Linked DNA regions of Homo sapiens: regions 2, 3 and 4 are each linked to region 1. Evidence: promoter capture Hi-C in 16 types of primary human blood cells and fetal thymus (Javierre and others, 2016). All regions are on one chromosome and are shown on one strand. Each heading gives the region's core, a stretch centred on a gene start or on the middle of the fragment in contact. The rest is flanking DNA. Distances are from core to core; before and after follow the strand shown.

Region 1 (3,017 bases), core at 518-3,017:
CCTAAACCATCAGAGGTTTCTTTAAAGAATCTATAGGAGAAGGAATTCAATTTCTGATAATCAGAACAAAGTTGAATTTTCACTTAGGGTATGGGAATGGTGGGGAAATCAACTGTTATGCAACACTGAAAAAGACTTTCCCCTTTCGTACAGAAAAAGTATCATGACGACTGCTAGAAATGTAAGACAGAAAGTACATCAAACTATATCCCTCAAACTTCGGAGGTTCAGCAGTTCTCAGCAAGCAAGGAAAAATCAAACAAATTTTGCAAATTACTCTTTCAAAAACTGGTCGTGATGAGAGGGATGACAGCCAACAATCTGCAGCCATGCACGAATTTTGTTGTTGTTGTCTTTTACTGGTTTAACAAAACATAAACCAACGCATGAGTTCCAGCTTTAAATTCTGAAATGAGAGAACTGGAAAGCTGCTGCTGTGTGCCTTAATGATCACGTTTTTCTTTTTCCTTTTTAACTTTCCTTTAGAAAACCTCAACAAAGACTAAGCCCAGAAACTTTGACAAAACATAAGCCAAGGCAACATGCGCTGGAGAAGACACGCAATGTAAAAAAACAAAAAACCCCAGTCACAAAATGTCCCAGTAAGTCGGCTTAATAAAAGATTAACTTTGTTCTGCTGAATGCTTCAAAAATCGCGTTTCACAGTATTTTCTAATTACATATGCTTTAAATACAGTATGTATGCTAATAAACGTGGACCTCAAATACATGTGCAATGAAGCAAAGCTGATGTTCCAGATTACATTCTAGCAGTCCCGAAGAAAATGGTAACCTGCAACTGCATGTGCAAAGCTGACAGAGGGAAAAGAGTGGTGAGGCCAGTCGCCCTTCCCTTTCTACCACAGGAAAAGAACAAAGTTCACACTGATTTAACATTGCAGGGGCGCGCCAGAATATCCTGGGGGTTTCCCTCAAACACCCGCTCTTGGAGAGGAAATTGATGCAAGCGCCTCAGTCAACTTCACATCGGGCCCCGCCGCTCCGGGAGTCGGATGTGTCCAAAAAACCGACGCCGCGACACAGGCGGCGTCCTAATCGCAACCCTAGGAAATCAGGGTCGCGGGACCTGGGTCGGTCCTTCTCTGAACGCTGCCCCGGCAAGGCGGGAGACTGGCGTCAATCAGAACCATCCAAAGCGGGACAAGAGGGCACCGAGGCCGGGTGGGGGGGACCCCGCCCGGCCCCTGCGGGAAAGTTGCTTACTGGCCGGGCCCGAGTTTCGCGGCGGCCCCAGAGTGCCCGGCGCCCCTTACCTTCTTGCCGCTGCCGTCGCGAAGCTCCGACTCCAAGAGGCCGGCGCCGCGGGTCCGGGGCAAGGCGGCCGTCTTCTGGCCCTGCGGGAGGCGCGGCCCGCCGGACGACAGCGGCGGTGCCGCGGGGCTAGGCGCGTCCTCGGCCACCAGGCGCTCGGAAATGTGGATGCTCGGGGCACAGCCCATGCTGGCGGCGGCGCCGCGGACACGCTGGCGGGTAGCCGCGATCCGGTCAGCAAACGGCCCACCCGGCGCCTCCGGGCCGCCGCGGGCGCCGTGTCATCGCCGCCTGGGCGGGCGGCGGCGAGCGCGGATCTCGCGTCAGGAAACGCGGCCGCCCCTTTTATCGCGGTGCGGGCGCTGCGGCGGCGGCGGCTGCGGTGGGAAGGGGGCGCTTAGGCGGGTGGCGTGCCGAGGCCGCCCCTCCGAACATGCCCTTCCTGAGGCAGGAGCCGACGGCCGCCTCTCACATCGCCGGGCTCGCCTCGGCCGCGCTTCCGGGGAAATAGGGGGAGGAGATTTGCGCTCTCCTTACCCAGGAGCGGCTGAGTCCACGCCGCGCGAGCCACGCTGCCCTCGCCGAGCTGCGGCACGACCCCCGGGGGAGGCGAGCTCCCGGCCGCGCCCGGCCCCGCTCCCGCCGCCGCCGCCGCCGCCTCCCCGGCTCCAGACTCCGCCTAGATGTGGACACCCACGCCGCTCCGCCCGCTGGGCCGCCGCCTCGCGGAAAAGCCCCCCCAGGCCGAGTGCCGGTGGGGTACAAGGCTAGCCTTAGACGCTCCCGCTGGCCGGGGTTTAGGCGCGGGGTCCGAGGGAAACCCCTCGGAGCGGCCGGGCCACGTCCGCCAGGGTAGGGAGGGGAGCAGCTCGGCTCCAGCGGGGCCTGGGGCCGCACCGTCGAGAAGCGCAGAAACGGCTGCGCGCACCCAGGAGTTGCTGGCGGTACGGCTCCGGCTCCGGCTCCGTGATCCGGGCCGGGTTTTGCCGGCAGCGTGCCGCGCCGAGCCCCCAGCGGTGACCTCCAGCGGGTGCTGGCGTCAATGCAAAGCAGCTGGGGCGCCCGCCACCTCCTCCGGACGCCGCCCGCAACTGAGCATGCGCGGCGACGACAGGCGGGGCGCCCGACTGGGCTACCCAGAGAAGGAAAGAGACTTGCCCAGGGACACACAGCCACCTCCGTCCCGAGGCCACCAGAAGCCCGACCGCCAAATTCGAATTCCGGCTCCGTAACTTAGCGGCTACTTGACCTCGGTGGGGTCACCAAGTGTGAGCCCTGGAGCTGTTACCCAGAAAAGAGGCCGGTGGAAAGACCTCCTTTGGGGGTAGTGAAAGTCAAACTGGGGCGCCGCGCGCCGGGTCCCGGGTGGGTGGGGCCTGGGCGTCCGCGAGAAGCCGCAGCCCACGTGCGCTCCCTCGCAGGCCAAAACCTGGCGCGCCACGCCTCGGATTACACAGGCGCCGGGGCGGCCGCAAAGCTACAGCACCGGGCAGGCTGCAGGCGCCCGTCCTCCTCTCATTTTAACCAAAGTGCTAGTCGGGCGTCCGAGACCCCAAAGGCAGAGCCAGGGGAAGGGGCGTACGCATTGCAGGCCTGGGGCCCATGAGGACCCCGGACACGCACACAGCCACTAGCTTGCTGTGTGAACTGGGCCAGTCACTTAACTTCTTGGTGGCTGGGGCTCCTCCCCCACCAGCTGGAGGGCGGTGTCTCTGGGCGTCCATCACGTATCCTGTAGCGGGCTG
Region 2 (3,017 bases), core at 135-2,634, 410 kb after region 1:
CGTAGCAACCTCCACTCATAGTGACAACGAGACTCAGTGTAGTCAAGCAACTTCTCAAAGTTCACACAGCTGGAGGGTGGCTGAGCCAGGATGAAGACCTAGGACTCTAAAGCTGGTGTGCCAGTAAATGAGAAAAGTCTCTAAGCGTTCAGGATAGCTTCCTCCCAAGAAATCTTTCTCCAAAAGTTCTAAAAACAATGACAGATCCATCTTTTATAAAGCAGACAAAACTAGCAGTCCGTTCCTTTTAGAGTGGGGTGTAAAGGTTAGCTAAGCTCCAGGGCATCCCATTTTAATCCTATATATTTATAAGGCAACTGCCAGCAGAGCACCCCAAACCTAAAGAACCCTGCACAGCTGTCTCTGTGGGGCATGGCGTGTCCATGGATGTAAAGATTTTCCAATGTGTGCTTACGGGCCTGTGGCATCACCCTCAGTCACTGTCAAAGGGTAGCTAGGCCCTGCCCGCTAGGCACCATCCTGAGAATCTGCTGAGCTTTCTAACTAGTTTATCTGTTGTTTGCAGTGAAAGATGCCCTGAAAAGAAGGGGTGTGGGTGGGAAGAGTTCTGATTTGAGGTCCCCTGATCCAGGCATGCTCTTCTTCCCCAGTTGCAGGAATCAGGGGACTCTATCTGTAAATGCGGGCTCAAGCCATGCCCCCCAGCTCCCTCTTTCAACCAGGTGCCACCCTCTGCTTCTCTTCCATAGACAGCCTAGAGCTGCCAGCAGTCCCTTAGGATCTGTGGCCTCAGGCCTGGCTTAATTTTTTCCTCTCCAAAGAGCCATCTGTAGGGCCAGAGGCCGTCAAAGCCTGACTCATTACTGGATGCCAGTTCCTTTGCCTGACCTTCAGTGATTCCTACCTTACCCTGCGGTTTTATGTTTCTTGTCTCAACACTATTATTTCTTATTTCTCCACAAGTTGAATTGCTCACTCCAGCCCCTCGAAGCATGCTCTTTTTGACACAGTTAGCTTTAGGCACATGGTTGGTGCTAAAAAAAAAAAAAAAAAAAAAGAGCATTATGTCGTTTTCATTGATTAACAAACGTGATGGCTTCACTGCAAAGTAAAGTTGATACTGCCTGGACCCCTGAGTTCAAGAGTCTTTTAGACAAATGGCTCTGAGCTAAAACATGAGCATGCAAACATATGCATCTGTTTCGGTCTGATGAGATAATTTGGATACTTGGTTGTTATCCTTGAGCATTTTCCTGCCTCATTAATGCATGTGTAGCCAGCACAATAATAATCATAGCTAATAATGGCTAAAGCTGAGGGCTTTCCTGAGCCAGGCAGTGGCTTTAAAACTTTAAAGTGGCTTTTAAAACTTTAACAGCTAAAGCTGAGGACTTTCCTGAGCCAGAAAGTGGCTTTAAAACTTTAAAGTTTTCACATGGACTCTCATTGAATAATTTCTGTTTTTCAGATCAAGAAACTGAGACTTACTATCACATTTGGGATTAAGTTAAAAAAAAAAAAAGAAACTGAGGCTTAAAGCTGTCAAGCATTTCACAGCCAGCAAGCAGCTAAATCGGAACTTGAACCCAGGCAGTCTAGCCCTGGGATCCTGTGCCCTTCCTTACCCATTATCCAGTGTTGGCTACACAAAACTAATGAGTACATATTTTCAACTATAGTTTAAGTGGGTGACATATTTTTCACTATATTTTATGTAGGTGACTTTCAGTTTGGGGGTATTCTACTTACACAATCTATTGAGCTGGATATTACTGAGAACAAAAAGAAACTAATGAACTCTGAAAAACATAAAACATGAGCAACATGACATCACTGCAAAAGACAAAACAGCACATAGCCTTCTTGTGACTGTATTTTGCTGACAGTCCATGAGCTGATAGCCTGAACTCAGCAGTGCTGTTCCCTTGGGAGACACACACACACACACACACACACACACACACACACACACACGAGTTGGTGGTTTTGTACCTCCCCCCGCCCCTAAATACACACACACCAGTTGGTGGTTGTGCAGCCTGGAGCTTCCAGTCCGCGAGTGTGAGGAACGGACTAGATGGGTCCAGCAGTGCTGGGTCAAAGCCAGGAGGGGGCAGCCGGAAGCGCGCACATGCTCTGGACTCGTGCACCCGCCGAAACGGGTGCGCACCGGGCGCGCGGGGGTGAGAGGTGAGGGGTGAGGGGTGAGGGACGAGAGGGACGGGAGCGGGGTAGGGGCAGCCCTTTCCCAGGCGGTAGCGGGGGCGGTGGTGCTGTTGTCCTTTTAAGCTGTGGCTTGACAGGAGGAGCGCCTCCTGTCGGTGGAGTCTGTTACAAGGGGAGCAGCCGCCCAGGCCGCCACACAGCTCCCCGCAGAGGCCTCGGTGCCCCTTGCCATTTTCCAGCCCTACTCCGACTAGAGTTGAGGCAGCGGGGAGAGGCGGAGCCGCGAGAGCGCCGCCGAGAGGTCCCGCGGGTGGTCGCGGCCATGACAGCGGCTCCCGACCGGCTCACCTTCCGCGCCCCTCCCGCCAGAGGTGAGAGTAAAATGTCCGTGTCAGGGTTCAAGGCCAAGCTGAAGTTGTTGTCCTCTATTTTCCACAAGAACCAGGAGCCGCCGCGGCAGCTCAGGCTCCACTGCAACATCACGGTGAGGCGCCCAGCGGCGGCTTCACACGGCAGGGCGAGGGCGGAGAGGAAGAGCCCGGAGTCCCGGGACAAAGGGGAACCTGCCCAGGAGAGGCCCCGGTTCCCCGGGCCGGGTGAGCGCGCACCTTTCTCCCGCGACTGGCCTGGCCCCGATCGCCGGGACTGCGGGAGGCTTGGGTGGGAGGAGGGGGAGGGCGCGTCTCTCTGGCTCCTTGCTGCGGGGCTGGCTTGGGGGCTGCCGGCACCTCTCGCCCCAGTCACCGCGCCCCGAGGTGGGAGCCCGCGTCGCCCGCAGCCCTTTCGGGGCCCATGGTCGCCCTCAGTCAGCCAGCCTGCTCCCCGGGACCGCGACGGGGCGTGGCAGGGCGTCTCCGGCTGTTGTTTGAGCCCGGGCGGGGAAGGGGAAA
Region 3 (3,017 bases), core at 224-2,723, 360 kb after region 1:
CACTACACTCTCCAGGACAAAACCCCACGAGAACAAATGTGTTCCCCTGGTAGCTGATCTACCACAGGACAGTAGGCAGAGACAAAAGCAAGCACTGAAATGTCCTCGGTTTACCCCTTTCCTGAAGGCCCTGTCCAACTCTTACCAATGGAAAGGACACTGGGACACTGGCTCCAGGCTGTACTTCCTCAAGTTTCTGTGCTCCTGACACTTTCTGGAAATAGAAAGGGTCTTTACCTTCACGTGGGTGACTCAGAACTGGAGAAGCCCCTCCATCTTGACCTGAAATCAAAGCCCAAGACACCAAAGCCAGAAGAGCAGATTCTAACTGACAGCTTGGGGTGCCCTGGAACACTAACAGCTTGGGGTGAAGGCACCTTAGCCCAACAACGTGGCAGCAAAACAACAAAACAACCAGAACCACACCAATGATTTCCAGTATTTCTCTGAGGACTCGGCCCACGTTGTGGGCCATGCTGTCTTCCATTCCACATGGAGAAACATTTCCCCCCATTTTACCAAAGAGGAAACTGAGGCACAGAGGAATCATGAGAGGGGGCCAATCAAGTCACCCAATGTAAGGGAAAAAGACCCAACTTTCCAGACCTTCCACGCCTATGCCCTGTTCTTGAATGTATACGGGACTTGACTCAGACCACTAAAATGACAGTGTCCTGGAAATGAGGATGAGCAAGGGGAAGACTCTGGCAAAACCCCCCAGAATGTTTAGGAAGCACAGCTCTTTGAAAGGGAATCACTGTTGGGGCAGTGTGGCAACTCCCACTCCAGGCCAGTCCCTCACTTTCACTCTTTGCCACTTCAATAAAGTTTCTCTTTCATGTGAGTTCTCTGATGTGTGATAAAGTTAGAGCTGTTGCTGAAGCCTTTGCCACACTCGGGGCATTTGTAGGGCTTCTCCCCAGTGTGGATTCGCTGATGTATAATGAGGACTGAGTTCCAGCTAAAGCCTTTCCCACACTCAGGGCACCTGTAGGGCTTGTCTCCCAAATGGGCTCTCTGGTGCATGACCAGAATGGAGCCCCGGCTGAAGCTCTTGCCGCACATGAGGCATTTGTAGGGCTTCTCGCCCGTGTGGGTCCGCTGGTGCACTACGAGCTGGGAGCGCTGGCTGAAGCATTTCCCACACTCGCTGCATTTGTAGGGTTTCTCTCCCGTGTGGATCCTCTGGTGCTTGAGGAGGTTGGAGCTCCAGCTGAAGCTCTCCCCACATGTCAGGCACTCGTAGGGTTTCTCCCCTGTGTGCATGCCCTGGTGTGCAATCAGACTGGAGCTCTGGCTGAAGCTCTTCCCACACACCCCACACTTATAGGGCTTCTCCACCATGTGGGTTCTCCGGTGTGTGGCCAGGTTAGAGCTGCGGCTGAAGCTTTTCCCACACTCGCTGCACTGGTAGGGTTTCTCTCCTGTGTGGGTTCTCCGGTGGGTGATGAGGGCTGAACTCTGGCTGAACCTCTGCCCACAGTCGGTACATTTGTAGGGTTTCTCTCCTGTGTGGATTCTCTGGTGTCTGATTAGATTGGAGTTGTAACTAAAGCTTTCGCCGCATTCTTTACATTCGTAGGGCTTTTCTCCAGTGTGGATCCCCTGATGCGTGTTAAGGCTGGATCGGTTGCCAAAGCTCTTTCCACACTCGGGGCACGAGTAGGGTTTCTCTCCTGTGTGGGTGCGCTGATGTGCAATGAGGTTGGGACTCCTGCTGAAGCTCTTGCCACACTCGGCACACTGGAAGGGCTTTTCCCCCGTGTGGATCCTCTGGTGGGTTATGAGGTTGGCACTCCGGCTAAAGCTCTTCCCACAGTCTCTGCATTTGTAGGGCTTCTCCCCGGTGTGAGTGGTTTGGTGTCTACTAAAATTTGAACCATCACTAAAGCTTTTTCCACATTCATCACATTTGTAGTATTTCTCTCCTGTGTGGGTCCTCTCGTGTGTGATGAGGTGGGATTTCCGGCTGAAGGTCTTCCCACACTGGGGACATTCGTAGGGCTTCTCCCCTAGGTAGGTGCCCTGCAGGCCTATGAGCTGGCCAACTTCCCTGTCCTGAGAAACCACCTCCCCGTGGTCCTCACCTGGGCTGTGTCCCTGGAGCCTCTGGATGCCAGCATCTCTCTCAAAGTCACTTTCCCCATCGGAGTGCTGAGCACTTTCACCTTCAGGCATTTCCGAGAATATCTTACGTGATTCATTCTCAAACATGTCTTGATTACAGTTCTCCCCATTTTCACTCTGTATCTCAAAATCTGAAACAATGAAGAAAAACATACAATGTCTACTCAACTCCCTGTCATGATGACAAAAGAAAACGAAGGGGGAAATTTATAAAAATTAAACTTCCAGTGAACACAAAGAGGCTAGAAAATCCTCAAAGCCTTTAATAATCAGGTTTAATATACCCAAAGGAATATAAATCATTCTATTATAAAGATACATGCACACACATGTTCAATGCTGCACTATTCACAATAGCAAAGACATAGAATCAACCCAAATGCCCATCAATGATAGATTGGATGAAGAAAATGTAGTACATATACACCATGGTATACTATGCAGCCAAAAAAAAGAATGAGATCATATCTTTTGCAGGGACATGAATGGAATTGGAAGCCATTATCCTCAGCAAACTAACATAGGAACAGAAAACCAAACACTGCATCTTTTCTCTTATAAGCAGGAGCTGAATGAAGAGAACACATGAGCACATGGAGGGAAATAACACACCCTGGGGCCTGTGGGGGAGGGGGAGGGAGAGCATCAGGAAGAATAGCTAATGGATGCTGGGCTTAATACCTAGGTGGTGGGATGACCTGTGCAGTAAACCACCATGGCACGCATTTACCTTTGTAGCAAACCTGCACATCCTGCACATGTACCCCTGAACCTAAAAGCTGATGGAAAAAAAAAAAAAAAAAAACCAACCCAGGCTTATTTCATTCTGACTGGTTGTCAGGCCTCATAATCTTTGTGGCAATCACCCAGAATTTCAAAGCCTTAAAGAT
Region 4 (3,017 bases), core at 383-2,882, 270 kb after region 1:
ACTCCTGACCTCAGGTGATCTGCCTGCCTCAGCCTCCCAAAGTGCTGGGATTACAGGCATGAGCCACTGCAGACGGCACATCTTTAACCTTTTGAGCAACTGCAGCTATTTCCCAAAGTGGCTGCACCATTTTACATTCCCACCAGCAGTATATGAGGGTTCCAATTTCTTCACATCTTCCCCTAAACTTATTATTATTTGTCTTTTTTATTACAGCCATCCTCCAATAAATTCAAGTTTTTATTTTGGAATGACTTTCCATTTAAAGAATTTCGAGGATACTACAAAGAGTTCCAGTATATCCTTCATTCATCTTTCCCTAATGGGAGAGAAGGATTATTTTGAAAAAAAAAAAAAAAAAAAAAAAAGAGAGAGAAATGATACCAAGTAATCCAGCTTTAGTCTTTGTTGACTGAAGTGCGTATTAGGAGCTTTGGCCAGTCAAAGCAAAAGGTAGCGAAAAGATAGTCACTTCAAGGTGTCCAAGTTAAGAAAACCAGGAGGTAGAATTCAAGGAGACCATGTCAAATCCTGTCAGCAAAGTCAAGGTCAGAAAGGAAGCCACTTCCTAACGACCCACACCACTGGTGGTCTCATCACGCTGTTGCACCATTTGGATGTTTTCTAATTCTCCCGGGCTGTTTTCTCTCCAATTGGACTGTAAACTCCTGGCAGGCTCAGGCAGTGCTCGGAAGGTCTCTCACACGGTCCAACCTTACGCGAAAAGCACTTATTGAAAGCACCTCGATGGCCGGGCGCGGTGGCTCACGACTGTAATCCCAGCACTTTGGGACGCCAAGGCGGGCGGATCACCTGAGCTCAAGAGTTCGAGACCAGCCTGGCCAACATAGTGAAACCCTGTCTCTACTAAAAATACAAAAATTAGCCAGGTTTGGTGGCGCGCGCCTGTAGTCCCAGCTACTTGGGAGCCTGAGGCAGGAGAATCGCCTGAACCCGCGAGGCGGAGGTTGCAGTGAGCTGAGATTGCGCCACTGCACTCCAGCCTGGGCGACACAGTGAGAAAGAAAGGAAAGAGAGAAAGAGAAAGAAAAAGAGAAAGAGACAGACAGACAGAAAGTAAGCAAGCAAGCAAGCAAGCACCTCAACAGAGACAGAGACGTAAAGAAAGAGAGACAGAGACAGAAAGAAAGAAAGCACCTCCTCAGCTTCCCATAGCGCAGGAGACTTGCTCGACCAGAGAACCTACGGTCAGACGACACATCCACTGCCACACCCATACCCAAGCCGGGACGCGGAACCGCTTCTACCCGCCCACACCGGAGAGGTTGCTCGCGATTGGCCGGGCGGGCACAGAGGCCCGCCTTCCGAAGGTGGCAGAGCAGCCTCCCCAACTAAGCCTGGGTCGCCGCCTCGGTGAAGGGCCGCGGGGCCGAGCGCGGGAAGTGGCGTCCAGTCGGTTTTTGGCAGGCGAGAGCCAGAGCGTGAGAACCCTCCCACGGCGAGGCCAAGCCCTGAGACTGGACTAGCAAGGTCGTGAGTCTCTCTGTCAGCTCTCCGCAGCGAAGGGGCGCGGGGGGCGGGGACCGTGCCCGACCGTGCCAGCTCCCGCCCCGGAAGCGGAAGTGCAAGCACTGCGGGGTCCTGTCCAGTGTGAGCCCGACCCGAGCTCCAGTAGTTCCGCCCGCTGGTCATCGCGCCCTTTCCCCTGCCGGTGTCCTGCTCGCCGTCCCCGCCATGCTGTCTCTAGACTTTTTGGACGATGTGCGGCGGATGAACAAGCGGCAGGTGAGCTTGTCCGTCCTCTTTTTCTCCTGGCTCTTCTTGTCCCTTCGAGGCTGCTGCTGCGGGGCCCGGCGGACCCCAGGGTTCTGGTGTGAGGGTCTGAGCTGGTCTGATACCCGGGTCATTCGCTTTCTTTGGAGACTGTGGCCAGAGGCCGCCTTGTCCGCCTCATTATTTTTAACCCCGAACTGATTCAGGGCCTACCGGGGGCGGGGCGGGAAGCGGTGTCTTCACGTTCCATTCCTCCCACTGAGGCAGGGGAGCAAATGGAAACCGTACGCGCTTGAAGTGGGAGTTGGGGTTGCTTATTGTTTTAGTCATTTTAAGGCGGCGGACTCTTGATTTCTCCAGTCGGAGCGACTCCAGGTGGTTTCGGGAGAGACGAGGTTTAGCCGGTTTCTGGGGCGCTCAGGAAGGCGATTGGAGGCCCCACAAAAACCGTTTTGCTGCTTTCAGCTCCTTGCAACCCTTTAGTAGAGCTGAACCGTAGCGGGCTGCACCGACTTTGACTTGGACCACTCTGGGCTCCGAGTTGGAACAGTTACACTACTTGCCCTTGCGTCCGCTTAGCACTAAGGCGGCAGCCCTCGGAATCTATGGTTTTACAGTCCAATATCAGTGCCACGGGGATCTGGAAATGTAGGTCTCCTGATTTTGTCCTTACACTTTACTTTGATCTTCTAGATCGTATGCCAAATAGTACTGAGAATATTGTTGTAATTATTTAGTCCTTAGAAAAGGTTGTTCTGTTTTATCTTTTGCGCCTAGTGTGTCTGTAGAGCCTAGTTTTGCTGCATCGGACTTTTTTTTTGTTTTAAACAGTATTTTACTGTTATGATTATCCTGATGTCACCATTAAGGATTTTTTTTCCTTGGACTTGCATTTTTTGTACTTATAACTGCCACTTAGGGAAGTAGATACACAACCTTTCCTTACTCCCCTTCAGGCCTTAGCTAGCTCAGTGTCAATTCTGTCAGTCAGAATTGAGCATTCTATAAAAATTGCGCAAACGTTACTTTATGTCTTTATGACAACACTTCAAATTTTTACTTGTATAGTGTTGTCTTTTTTTAATCCATATTTGGATTTCTAGATGCCACAGATATTTCTCTGAGGAAAGTATTTATTTTGAGTCTGATATTTATTGTACTCTATGCTAGGTACAATGAGAGAAATGCAAAGATAGTTAAGAAAGACTCGGCCTTCAAGGAGCCTAAATGTGTAGAAAAGGACTAAGGCAAAACAATAACTTTTTTGAGCTCTTGCCATGTGT

What was found. The method cuts DNA at HindIII sites, captures the fragments that hold promoters and counts their contacts. A CHiCAGO score of 5 or more calls a contact.
Region 2: a contact is called between a fragment that was not itself captured here and the fragment with the promoter of PDE8A in region 1, in 2 of 17 cell types (fetal thymus and naive CD8 T cells). The highest score is 5.3, in fetal thymus.
Region 3: a contact is called between a fragment that was not itself captured here and the fragment with the promoter of PDE8A in region 1, in 2 of 17 cell types (fetal thymus and M1 macrophages). The highest score is 5.7, in fetal thymus.
Region 4: a contact is called between the fragment with the promoter of SEC11A here and the fragment with the promoter of PDE8A in region 1, in 2 of 17 cell types (monocytes and neutrophils). The highest score is 5.4, in monocytes.

What each region holds. Positions count from the first base shown.
Region 1 is chr15:84,980,606-84,983,622 of GRCh38, reverse strand. PDE8A (phosphodiesterase 8A) reads right to left here and starts at 1,767. Exons shown (of 22, transcript NM_002605.3): 1 at 1,275-1,767. The coding sequence starts at 1,460. RefSeq lists an enhancer at 1,586-2,118 and silencers at 1,846-2,335, 2,656-2,705. The HindIII fragment of the contact is 13,609 bases long and covers 1-3,017 here.
Region 2 is chr15:84,570,193-84,573,209 of GRCh38, reverse strand. It overlaps LINC00933 (long intergenic non-protein coding RNA 933), which reads right to left and starts at 2,561. Exons shown (of 4, transcript NR_038274.1): 1 at 2,476-2,561; 2 at 866-995; 3 at 1-188. It also overlaps the pseudogene UBE2Q2P1. The HindIII fragment of the contact is 4,246 bases long and covers 1-3,017 here.
Region 3 is chr15:84,619,843-84,622,859 of GRCh38, reverse strand. ZSCAN2 (zinc finger and SCAN domain containing 2) reads right to left here. Exons shown (of 3, transcript NM_181877.4): 3 at 1-2,258. The coding sequence ends at 820. Among named protein-coding and RNA genes, the nearest start is that of ZSCAN2, 20 kb to the right of the region's middle. The HindIII fragment of the contact is 168 bases long and covers 1,390-1,557 here.
Region 4 is chr15:84,714,754-84,717,770 of GRCh38, reverse strand. It overlaps SEC11A (SEC11 homolog A, signal peptidase complex subunit), which reads left to right and starts at 1,632. Exons shown (of 6, transcript NM_014300.4): 1 at 1,632-1,746. The coding sequence starts at 1,696. RefSeq lists enhancers at 284-847, 969-1,078, 1,099-1,218, 848-1,413, 1,889-1,958 and 1 more. The HindIII fragment of the contact is 22,021 bases long and covers 1-3,017 here.